2 separate regions of the Homo sapiens genome follow, and region 2 is linked to region 1. The links are contacts of gene promoters, found by promoter capture Hi-C in blood cells and fetal thymus (Javierre and others, 2016). All regions are on one chromosome and are shown on one strand. Each heading gives the region's core, a stretch centred on a gene start or on the middle of the fragment in contact. The rest is flanking DNA. Distances are from core to core; before and after follow the strand shown. Region 1 holds the start of PGRMC2 (progesterone receptor membrane component 2). Region 2 holds the start of BBS12 (Bardet-Biedl syndrome 12).

Region 1 (6,263 bases), core at 2,467-4,966:
CACCGTGCCTGGCCGAAAGGCATGTTTTTTTTGAGGCTTTAAATCCTTGGATTTATGGGAACCAGGGAAGAGTATAAAGAAAAACAACAGTAAGATTCTCTACAAGTTTATCACAGGATGCAGTTTACTAGAAATAGTATAGATAAGCTGTGTGGTAATATCCATCTGGATTTATTAGACATACATGTAATCCAAGCCAATTTACCTAAAATACCTAGACCTCAGACTCCCCACCTGTAGAGCAGGAATACTTACCAACTTCACTGAGGAATTATGGAGATAAAAAAATTAATGGATCTGATATTGTGGGTGCTTAACGAATCTGGTTTTCTTTCTCCTCCTGTATTCAGTTTTTTACATGACCAAACTTTCCTCACCTGCTGGCCAAGTGCCTGATCTGTTACTAAATTTAATATTGGCAAATACAGTTAATGCCAACTGTTTGCCAAAATGTGTATACTCCACCAAATTACACTGTCAATATTTAATTAAGAGCCTGAACTTTAAAAATGTATGACTAAAAATAAACACATGTTTAGCATTATGGAAAAATCTCACAAAATTTAATCCTAAAACCATTATTGTGAAATTAGGGTAGATATTGGCTAGGCATAGAAACTAACAATTACTGCTTCTGAATTATTCTGCTACAAAACTGCTTAATTTATGAGGATGAAAATAAAAATTAAAAGCAAAACTGAACTTGTATCTGTTTTATAGCCAGAAATTTGGCTTTAAGATTTTTTGAAAAGTACTACTTATTACATTTTCTATTAATATGCAATATCAACATATTCTAAGCCCATAAAATGATCTGGCTTTCTTTAAGGTTCCTTTCAATAATAAAATATTCAAATATCTGTTATGTTGTTGATCAACTGTAGAATACTAACTGTATATCACTCTTAGGCTGTTCAACAGAACCTAGGAACTGGCAGAAACTAATCTAAAACTGACTTCTCCATTGTAATCTCAAGAGCCTCCCTCAGTGCACATACCATAAAAAAGCAATCTACCACCTATGACTCTTAATTTTTAATTTTTTTTTATACCGAGTCTCTCTCTGTCGCCCAGGCTGGAGTGCAATGGCGCAATCTCGGCTCACTGCAACCCCCACCTCCCGGGTTCCAGCAACTCTCCCTGCCTCCGCCTCCCGAGTAGCTGGGATTACAGGCACCCGCCACCACGTCTAGCTGATTTTCTTGTATTTTTAGTAGAGACGAGGTTTTGTTATATTGGCCAGGCTGGTTTCGAACTCCTGACCTCTGGTGATCCACCCGCCTCGGCCTCCCAAAGCACTGGGATTACAGGCATGAACCACCACGCCTGGCTTTAATTTTTAATTTCTATCACAGAACAAACGTTTGCCACTGGAGGCTGCCAAACTGTTTCTATGACTGTCTCTCTTAGCTATTTTCAGATACTGCCAAGGCATAATGTGTGAGGACTAATACGATTCTTTGTACTAATACTTTGTTTTCTTCAGTGGCAGTTCAGACAGGGTACAAAAGCTGATCTTTTAGCTGGGTAAGGTCTATATTAAAAATTTAAACCTGTACAGGATTTCTAATCACTTAACACATTTTAATACCAATGGGGGAAAAGCTTGAACTAGGTATAAAATGCTGTCTAAATCCTTGATTTAAAAAAAATTTACTTCGCTTGGCCTGTTTAAATACTGTACTTTGGCCCTGTTCTCTTGTCCCACGTGTGCTTAAGTAAACAAAAATGTATTAACCATTTCAGTTGATATAAGTAGGCAGACACCTTGTGTTCACATTTATGTAACCAGAAGCAAAAACTCTGTAAGCTATGTATTTACTTGGTTGGATTAAATGTGTATATATACACAGAAGTACAAACAACTAAGAAATAAATTACATAATTCAACACCAAAAATCTCCTATTTCTTATCCCTATTCCAATGAACAAACTACAAACCAAAGCACTTCTAAAATATCTTCCAGCTATCAAGCACTGAAATCAGAAGTATATATTTTTAAGTGTCAATAAATCTTATACACCTACAGATTAAATTAAGGAGAAAACCAGCTTACTTCCAGACTGCCAACCCTATGACTTTAAGGCTTGGAGGTACTCTCTCCAATAACAGGTCACTTTAGGTCTCTAATTTAATTATTTATTCTTATTGTAGTCACCACTTTTTTTTAAAGCTTAGTATTAATCAGTGCACAACCAGGATGCACAATGTTGCTCAACTGTATGATATACCAACAGGTTCCATGAGTCTGGGGTTTATTAACATAATCCAAAATGTATGCTACAACCACACTGTAAAAAAAGGGCGTCTAAATCAACTACCCTACACAAAGTTCCCTGAAAACAAAGTTCTCTCAAAACAAAGTTCTAAAAATCTTTAACTTGCATAACTGGCACATGGGGGTATAAATCTACAACTCTTCTAAGTTTTTTCTCCTTAGTTCTGCTAAGTGAAAACACAAGTCATTATCAACGTGTACTTGAAAAGAGAAAAAAAAAGAAAAAAGAAACCAGAGACACGCCTGCTGGGTATAGGAGCTCCACCCCCAAAACTCAAGGTGAATATCCTTACCAGTCTTTAATAAGCTCTGCATTCTGGTCTGTTCTCATCCCACATACCTTGTTAATCATGGAAAGCAACTCCGAACTAAAACTGGTTTAAAGAGAGTCCGAGGTGTTGCTTATACGTCTGGACTTCAGAGACTGGAGGGTTGGGACTTTACATGCCCCTAAACGTGGCCTTACGGAGTAATACAGCGAGGGAAAAAAGGAGATCAGTGGCAAAAAAAAAAAAAAAGGGGGCAAGGAAAAGAAAACGGTGAATTACAGAGCCCAAAACTTTAGTTTAGGTCCCAACTTCAGAAATCTCCCTTCCCTGGTGCCCCATCCATCCCAGGAATCAGGAGACTCAAAAAAGGTTAAGGGCCAGCGTTGACCTGTGACAACTAAAACGATTTTGAAAAATCCAGCCAAAGAAACAAAAAAAAAAGGCTGCGAGGAGAAATGGGATGGAAGAAAGATGAATGCTGAGAGCTGGTCTCTGGGGCGCCACCGGGGACCCTGGTTTCGGGGGAAGAACTGGAGGTGCCCGTAGCTGCGGGGGGACGGTGTGTGTGTAGGGGCGGGATGGGCCGTCCCAGGTGCGGCGGCCGAGGCGCGGGGGTCCCGGAGACGAGAAGGCTGGGCAAACTAACCCGGTGCCCAGAGGCCTCCCTGTCCGAAGGGGGTTGTGCTTCAGCTGCAGGGGGTCCTTCCCCTCCCCTTCCAACTCCTCACCCGGGCCGTAGAACTTGCTGCCTTTGGTCACGTCGAAGACTTTCCCATTGACCGCGAGCAGGATGCGCGGGTTGCGGGAGCCGTCGTACTGGCGCAGCTGCTCCAAGCTGAAGTCCCGCTTCTTCATGCGAGGCAGAGAGGTGGCGGGGCTCTCCTCGCCCGCCCCGGCCCCGGCCCCCAGACCCCGCCGCCCCCAGCGCACCCACAGCCGGTAGGCCCCCAGCAGCACCAGAGCCACCAGCGCCACGTTCAGCAGCATTTCCCCGCCCCCCGTCAGAAGCGCCAACGCCGCCGCCGCCCAGCCTCCCCCTTCCGCTGCCGCTCCCGCGTCGCCTGGACTCTCGCTGCCGCCGTCGTTGCTGCTCTCGCTGCCACTCCCCAGGGTGCCTAGCTTCACGTCCCCATCACCAGCCGCCATCACTGCCCGCCAGCGCCTTCCTCCTCCTCCCCGCCCCCTGCCCTCCCCAACCCCACGGCCGGCCCCGCCCATCTGGGGGCCTCTCAGCCAATAACGTGAGAAGAGGGGGCGGGGTCAGGCCGGCTCCTGATTGGGTGTTGACGGGGTAACGTTGTCTCGGATCTCCCGCCCCCTCCCTTCTTTCGCTGGCCGCGCACGCGTGCAACGCCCCGCCCACCTCGCCCCACACTTCCCTGCTCTCACTCCAAGCCTCCGCTAGGTTAAGTAGACGAGCCGGGCGGGTCTGAAGAAAAGATGCTACGACGGCCGCGCGGACGCTCATGGGCGGGGCGAGACCACAGCGCGTGCGCGGGCTCCTGAGCGCCACGCGCTCGCCTTTCGTTCGTAACCCCTGCGGGAGGCACGCCCCGCCCAGTCTCCAGGCTCTGCGCGTGCGCCCTGGAATCGCTTCCCTTCCTAGGCCTGCGTTCGCGTCCGCAAACTCCCGCCTCCTTGCGCTCCCCCCGCCCGGGAGCTTCACGTGCGCCTTGGCGGCCGCGGGGGCAGGTCCGGGCTGGACGCCTGGCGGAGGACGCGGGCAGGTGGCTTGTGGGAGGCTGGGGCATAGTTGAGCTGCAAGGCGCAAACCGATGAGGGGCGTCTGCTTTTCACCAGGGCGCCGTCGCTTTTGTCGGGAAACCGGCAGCGTAGGCGCGCAGACCGGGAAGCGGCAAGAAGATTTGGCCACGAGCTGGGGTCTTCCTGGAACGGAGAGAAAGCACGGAACCCGCACCGGGCTTCTCTGGCATCGGCAGTCTACGTGCTCCTCGCGCTGGCACCGAGCAGCCACTCCCCGCTGGGTTTGGCAAAGGCTGCTCTTGTAGAATTTTAAAGGATTTAGAGTCTCATTATTCCTTGAATCATAACTTCTGCGGCCGTAGGGAAGTGGACAGGTTGAGGTGGTCTTTCTATTCGTCATTCACTCTTATTTGCAGGTTCTGTTTCATGTACTTGGACGTCTTTTAGCCTCTCACACCTTGAAATTCTAGTGTGAAAAAGTGACCTCTGAAGTCTCACGCACTCAACTCGTTTGACGAACTCGTTTGACGTGTTCTCTCTTGCCCTTTGTTGTCTGTTGTCTTGAGTCTCATAGAATAGGTTTGAACCTTTCACTGTCGGTTTTGTAGGAGTCACTGAGGATATTGACGAGGCAAGTGACAGGGTCGACACTCTTGTAGAGAGGCTGTATAGCAACCAGGTGTCTGAAGGATTAGAGGCTGGGGAAAGAGTGGGAAAGCAGTTAGTAGGCTAGGGTATTTGTGCGTGAGGTGAGGAGACTCAGAGCTAGGGGAGACATTAGAGCAGGGGTTGGCAAACATTTTTTGTAAAGGGCCCGATCATATTTTAAGTCTCTGCCTTAACTACTCAGCTCTACCTTGTAACGAGAAAGCAGCCATAGACAATACTTGAATGAGTGTAGCTGTCTTCAGTAAAACTATGGACATTGAATTTTTAATATAATTTCAGGTATGAAATATTCTTTTGATTTTTAAGAAAATCATTGAAATATGTAAATTTTTTTTTTTTTAGTTCTGGAGAGGTGCAAAAACAACTTATAAGCCATATTGCTGAGCCCTGCATTAGAGGTACCTGAGGGAGAGCGACACAATTGGTAGTAAATGACCATATACTCTATCCTTCAATATGGAACACTTTTGGAAGTAAAGTAGGGCATTAATAATTATAGCCAGAGACCAGGAGTTATATCAGTTTTATCCCAGGCAAACCTAAAGGAATAGTCACCTTAAGGTTAAGGGTTAGGAGAAGTCAAAATTGCTTTAGGACTTGGTAACAGAAAATGGGAGGTGCCAGTGATGGAAATAGGAAGATAAAGAAGAAACTGGTTTTGAGGAGAAGATAGCTGTAGCAGTCCCAAGAGCTGTATACAGTTGAGACAACATTGATAGGAAGGAAGAAAGCACCCCAGAAGCAGGCCACTCCTTATATCTTATTGACCAGAACTGGGCTATTAGCTGTCCCTAAAGCAGTAACAGACAAGGAGCATGGGACATCCATGATTGCCTAGTGTTTATCTGGCTTTTTTAATTCTTATTCAGGACTGTGTTGAGCATTGCTGGACATTTACCATCTCTGGTTCCTTCCAGCTAAATGTCAGTACCACACCTCAGGCATTGTGACACCGTAAATCAACCGTTTTTCCCTCCCACCCCCCAGAGGTGTGGTACTGGTTGAGAACCAGTAGCTTAGACCCTCAGGATTTACCTTGGGGCTGAATTAGTGTGTGTAGGTTTCTTTTCCAGTTGGTTTGGAGGGAAGAGAGGAATTGGACAGTATTAAAGTTCTGCTGTCAAGGAAGTGGGCTGGGGAATGTTGGGTAGCTAACCAACATTGGCTGCCACGTGAAGTAAAAAAGTTTTCCTTTATATCCTTGATAAAATAGTGTCTCGACTTCTTCACACTTGAAGCCTTCCCAAAACCCCAGCTTTTTTGATTCTCATTGTAAGCCCCTTGAACTGGACTAGTTGGAAGTTCTTATTTTCCACCCTAAGTAACAAGCTCTTGTCCCAAT
Region 2 (6,263 bases), core at 1,886-4,385, 5.6 Mb before region 1:
GCACATACAATTCTAGTTTCAATCAAATAAAACCTCTTGTGTTGACAAGACAAAATTAAAACCTTCAGTTTTCATTTCAGTTGTGCTAAAAATGAACCAGGTAGTGTCACTATAGTTAATTTTCTATGAGTCTTTCTTGCTCCAAAGACAACTTGGTTATCAGAAAGTGTTTGTGTGGAGCAAGTGGCATCTGTTGCCTATTTGTCAGGAGCAGAAGTCTGAGCACTTCTGTCCACTGCATCTTGTTTCAAAGTCGCCAAGGAAAACAATGCAGTGAAACACTGGGTGGAACACACATTACTCACATACAGAAGAGACAGAGCAAGATCAGCTTCCCTAGTGGACTTCAGTCTCCCATGACCAGAGGGTCCCTCTTGGCAGCTGACACAGGGCAGGTGGCCTGCAAACACTCCTCTTGTGCTGAAGGACCCCCATCCCCTCCCCCACAGGAGACAGAGCAGTGGGGTTGGTCAGATGCCATATGATGCACACACTTAAGCAGGGCAAAGGACTACACATTGACTCTGAAACAGAGGAAGATATTACTATACGGGGTGGTAAGTTCAGCACAGGCTCTGTGGACTCCTAGTCTCTTCAAAAGAAGTGTTCCAGGCCCAAGGCCCACTCTCAAACAACTGAGTAGGAGTTAAAAGACTGTATGTATGAGATTCCGTTTCCCAACAGTTTGGCTCTTTCACAAGGAAGAAATCACAAGAGTCACAGAATTGAAAATGAGTTAGAAAATACACAGTTATCTTGAAAGTTTTATCCATAGGGAAGCAGCATAATGAAGAATAAGAACTTAAGATTTGGAATCCATGTTTTATTTCTTATCAATGGGCAACTGGGGAATTTTTAAAACTTCTCTGAACTTTAGTTTTCTTGTATGTAAAATGGAGCTAATACAATCAGCTTCCAACTTGTAATATGTTTACTGAGGTTAACACATAAAATCTCGGCCAGGCACGGTGGCTCACCCCTGTAATCCCAGCAGTTTGGGAGGCTGAGGTAGGCAGATCATGAGGTCAGGAGATTGAGACCATCATGGCTAACACAGTGAAACTCCGTCTCTACTAAAAATGCAAAAAATTAGCTAGGCATGGTGGCAGGTACCTGTAGTCCCAGCTACTCGGGAGGCTGAGGCAGGAGAATCTCTTGAGCCCAGGAGGCAGAGGTTGCATTGAGCCGAGATCGCACCACTGCACTCCAGCCTGGGTGACAGAGGGAGATTTTGTCTCAAAAAATATATAAATAAAATTTTTTAAAAATAAAACTCTACACCACCTGTCCTAGCACAGAGGTATTAAGTGCTCACTATAGAGTCAAACTTACAGGGAAATATGGGTGATGTAAGTGCTATTTTGAATTTTCTTTATAACTAAAAGAAGAAAATTAGCAAATAATGTTTCCAGACAGTTCTATTTAATACTTTATGTATTTGAGTAACTGACTAAAAAGCAAATGTTCATCAGGTTTTTTTGGGTTGCACAAAAGGAAAATATAAGTTTTGTTTGCCAAATTCATTTGGATGTGAAGCCAACTTCATCAAACTTTAAAATTCTAAGTCTTTGTGACCTAAGGTTCTCAAAAGAGCAGCTAGAATCAATACTGTTCTTGGATTAATGGCTCAAAGAAGTCATTATGTTTTGTTTCTTGATGCTGTAGATTTAACATCATATTGGTAGAGATGTGTAACTTCTTACATGGATTAGACATCAAGAAGCCAATGTGTACATATAAACTAAAAACTGAAAATGAATACATTCAGATATTAAATTATAAAACTGCATAACAAATACAAATTTGTTAATTTTCCACAAGGACTAAAACAACGCTATTAATAACGAGTAGTCTTTTTCATCACTCTCAAAACATCTTCCTCGTTTATTTCTCCATCTCTATCATGATCAGCTTCATCAAGCATTTCCTGTAAAACAAAATGTAAATATATGAAATACATTTAAAATGACATAAATGAAGTCAAACACATATTCAAAACCAAATTTTATTTTAAATGCATAAGTGCAACTAAAGTTAGAATTATAATCCTAAATTATCACATAAGTTATAATTACATATAAATTATAATTATAAAAATAAGCAAAATCTACCTGAAGTTCATCATGTTAAATTTTCCCCTGGTTTCTTAGCAAACCTCTTGATACCGGTTAGTATTATACTTCCAGTATCATCATCATCAAATAATTTGAAAGTCTTCAATATTTCTTCTTTTTCATCTTTTTTACTCTTTTAAAAAAGAAGCAACTATCCAGTCTTTCATTTATTTATTTTATCAAGCTGGACTTAATTAGATCTTTGGGGTCTAAAGCAGCAATGTGCCAAGTAGCTGTGTTCTGATTTTATTTATTGGTCTTTTAACAATTATGTACTCACACCTGCCCTCAAGGTGCTTAAAGGTAGAGCTTGCTAAGGTGGAGAAGGCACAGGGTGGTCCAGAATGCATCTCTTATTAAACCTCATAATTCAGATCCGTTACCAAAAATGTAAGCTTCAAAATGGAAGGTTGTATCTTTCAATGCTCCTTAGAATAGTGCCTGGCAAAAATAGGCATTCAATATATGTTGCTGAATTAAAGGCTTCCAAATTCTGGCCCCATTCTCTCTATCCTGCAATATAGCCTCATTATTTCCTGACAAAAACCTCTTCTCCACATCATAGTCTTCTCATTACTACCCTGAAAACATATTTAATCTTGCTCTTCCTATCTCCCATCCTTAAAAACCTAGTTCTAATTGCTTCTCTATAAAACTTCTGATTGCTCCAGCCCTAAAATGTAGCAGGTTATTGCTAGTATTTCTTTGAAAAATAAAATCATAACTATATCATTTTTATACTCATAATGGCAAAAAAAAATCTTCAAAACTAATGGTGCCAATTCCTTCTTTATCAACTTCAGCTACCATTTTTTAAATTTCTTCTTTCTTTGGTTCAAATCCTAAGGCCCACACTGCAATCTGAAATAGGAAGAAAAGGAATTATAATATGCCATGATTTCTTTCTAAGCTTTTTAACTCCCTATTAAGAGCTTCTCTCTTTTCTATTATGGACTGAGCATAAACAGAAAATTAGGTCAGCAGGCCTGTGTTTCAGTCCTACTGTGCCATCATGTACATCACTGTTACACCCTGGGCTTTTGCCTACTCATTTATAAAACACAATTAAAATGCTTAACAAGATATCGTTTTGCTAATGCAGGGCAGGCATATGCACTGAAGAGACTTTATATTAAGCTTTCAGAAGACTACTTTTAAAGAAAGCCTTAAAGATTGCCACAAATAATATGGTTTTTAAAATGATTTAGAATTAGAAATAATTTCAGAACCTTCTTTTACATCGATGGTTCCAGACCCATCAATATCAAATAAATTAAAGGCGTCTTTAATTTCTTGCTTTTGGGATTCATTCAGTTCAATTTTTGCTGCTCTTTTCTTCCATTGGTCTGAACTTGTATGGTAGTTAGATGCCTGTAATACACACACATATGGGTGAAAGATAAATTATATAACTGGAATAGTTAGCAGAACCAGAATAATTGATGATAAACTATATTAAAGTACCTATTTCCTACTATAAAATGAATCTCAACAGGAGTAAGGAAGGAGTGCAGTTGCTGCCAGGGGCAGCCTTCCTTGCTCTGGCGGAAAAACTTCGGCCCCGGCCCCAGCAGAAGGTTACAGCTTCACACTCACCAGGTCCCCAGCCGGCAGCCGGCGCTCTCAGCCGGGACCTCCCGGCGTCACCTCCCGCAGCCCCGCCCAACCCAAGTCTTCACAGCTCACTGGCGGTTGCTAAGGCCGCTCTCACCGACCTCTCTCAGCCCCGCCCACCCAGCCTGAGTTATTGACATCCAGTTCATCCAATGGACAGAAAAAAAGGCCTTTAAACCAGCCCTTTCTCTCTACTCCCTACCAATAGCGTGACGTCCCCGCCTTTCGCAGCCCGGCGTTAAGCGGAACTTCTCTCTCCAGCTGTGTCTCTTAGCAACTAAGCCCCCGGCTCCTCCAGAAGCCCCTCTTCGCACATGCGCAAACTGCGGACGGGGAACTGGGCTCCCTAGCCCTGGCGTTTTTGGTGTTGCTGTCCCAGCCAGAATCGCGTCTGGCCGGTGGGAAGCCGGGAACTCCAGCCCCCTGTAGGAGAGGAGAAAGGAGCGAGGTTAGTAGTGAGGTGCTTCCGCTGACTGCTAAGCTAAGTCTTTCCTGAAGACGTGGGAGCCCGTGTGTTTGATTTTTCTGTCCTCTTCGGGCCAGGGAAAGAATGAGAATCTAGGGCCTGGAGGTCCTGGGGTGAATTGGTCCAGCATGTGGCTAGGAGTACTAGAGGAAGAGGGGACTGCCCTTTCTTTTTGCCGCTAGACTTTCCTCATTTTCTACAGTGCCTGGAGCTGGGCCTTCAGCCATTTACCTCCTCCCTGTTTTGGGCAGGGATTCTGGCATGGTAGACACCAGAATTCTGTATAGCAGTGGCATGGGGTAACAGTGTCGTTGGAGGGACGTGGGTATTGGGATAAGCATGGGTCTTGGGATGTATTTAAAGCTTCACTACATACATAGATAAACGTTTTTACATGTTTCGTGTAGCATTTGTTTACGAGGTAGGACTTTGGCCCCACCCATAATTACTATCGGACCCCGCCCTCCAACCCCAACACACACACACACACACACACACACACACACACACACACACACACACATCCAGCCATTTCCTTGGCCCAGTCCTAAGATTTGGCCAGTTGTCAACGATATCAACTTGATCTGCACTTCAGAGTCAGACACAGGTAGTCTGATTATCCAGTTGATTCAGTAACGGCCTAGATTTAGATACTTGTGAAACTTTTGTAAACCAACTCAATCTCTTGTCCAGAGGGCCAGATTTACTGCTTCTGCCCGTTCTGAATTTGGCCAGGAATCAGCTTAAAGGACAGGGGAGAAAGACTGAGGTAGGATGGACCACTGACTTCCTGGTGGGAATGAAGGAATGAGAGAATCTTAAAACTTCTAACCTTTAATTGCTCACACATGCGGACCCCTTTTATGCCTCCTACAATGTCTTCTCTAGAGGAAATATTTTCTAAAAATTATACTGGATTCTTCAAAAATGGATTCAGGAAGAATACTAACTTTAGTCTTTTTTTTTTTTTTTTTTTTTTTGTCTCACTTATCTTCCTGAAGGCAGGAGAGGAAAACAAGTGCAAAGTGCATTCTTGAAGCACTCTGTCAAATCACTTTTCATGCTTCATTGAGTAGAAACATGGCACATTTTCCAAAGCCATCAGCCTGTCTTGTTCATATTATATCCCAGACAGACACGCAAGTATTGTAATCATTGATAAAAATCTCATTAGGCTTCTGGAAAATAGGTAAGTTTATCCTCATATTGCAGGTGATTTTTCCATATAAAGTTACCCAGTGAAAATTAAAATGGCACAAATCCAAGATAATTTTTGAGTTAAGTAAAATGTGGTCACTTTAATATATGATTTTTCACGTCATTTATCTCACTTGGAAAGTTGCTCTTGATCAGTTTCAAGGTCATACACTTTTTTTTTTTTGAGACCGAGTCCTGCTCTGTCGCCCAGGCTGGAGTGCAGTGGCTCAATCCCGGCTCACTGCAAGCTCCACCTCCCGGGTTCTCGCCGTTCTTCTGCCTCAGCCTCCCGAATAGCTGGGAGTACAGGCGCCCGCCACCGCGCCCGGCTAATTTTTTTGTATTTTTAGTAGAGACGGAGTTTCACCGTATTAGCCAGGATGGTCTCCATCTCCTGACTTCATGATCCGCTCGCCTCGGCCTCTCAAAGTGCTGGGATTACAGGCGTGAGCAACTGCGCCCGGCCATATACTTCATTTTTAATACTAATATTAAAAGGATTTCTTAGACCCAGAAATGAATAGTGACCAAGTATATACTCAACCCAATCCTAATTTCGAGGATCTCTTGGATCATGTTTGATCTAATGACAATTAAATGGCGGAGTAGTATATTAACCTATTTTTATATCACTATGATTTAGGCTTTTATATTTGGAATATTTACTGCTAGTTAAAATGTTTTTTTAATTGTAGGCTCAGATTCCAACTCCCAGATCTTGAATAGGATGTAATTAGTTTTGAAAACTAGCTATTAACGAATCTAACTGCACTTTAGAACATTAATCATCATCATTATCCAGGAAAACATTAAACACATAGGCACTCTTAAATCTCCCAAATGTATTTAATGTTTTCTATATGTCATGCACT

The links. The method cuts DNA at HindIII sites, captures the fragments that hold promoters and counts their contacts. A CHiCAGO score of 5 or more calls a contact.
Region 2: a fragment that was not itself captured here is called in contact with the fragment with the promoter of PGRMC2 in region 1 in 1 of 17 cell types (total B cells); the score reaches 7.7 in total B cells.

Annotation. Positions count from the first base shown.
Region 1 is chr4:128,284,097-128,290,359 of GRCh38, forward strand. PGRMC2 (progesterone receptor membrane component 2) reads right to left here and starts at 3,717. Exons shown (of 3, transcript NM_006320.6): 1 at 3,277-3,717. The coding sequence starts at 3,694. RefSeq lists silencers at 3,357-3,416, 3,597-3,646, 3,657-3,836, 4,157-4,346, 4,718-5,012. The HindIII fragment of the contact is 4,970 bases long and covers 2,173-6,263 here.
Region 2 is chr4:122,728,709-122,734,971 of GRCh38, forward strand. BBS12 (Bardet-Biedl syndrome 12) reads left to right here and starts at 3,996. Exons shown (of 2, transcript NM_152618.3): 1 at 3,996-4,176. It also overlaps the pseudogene CETN4P. RefSeq lists a silencer at 3,666-3,885 and an enhancer at 4,246-4,455. The HindIII fragment of the contact is 227 bases long and covers 3,023-3,249 here.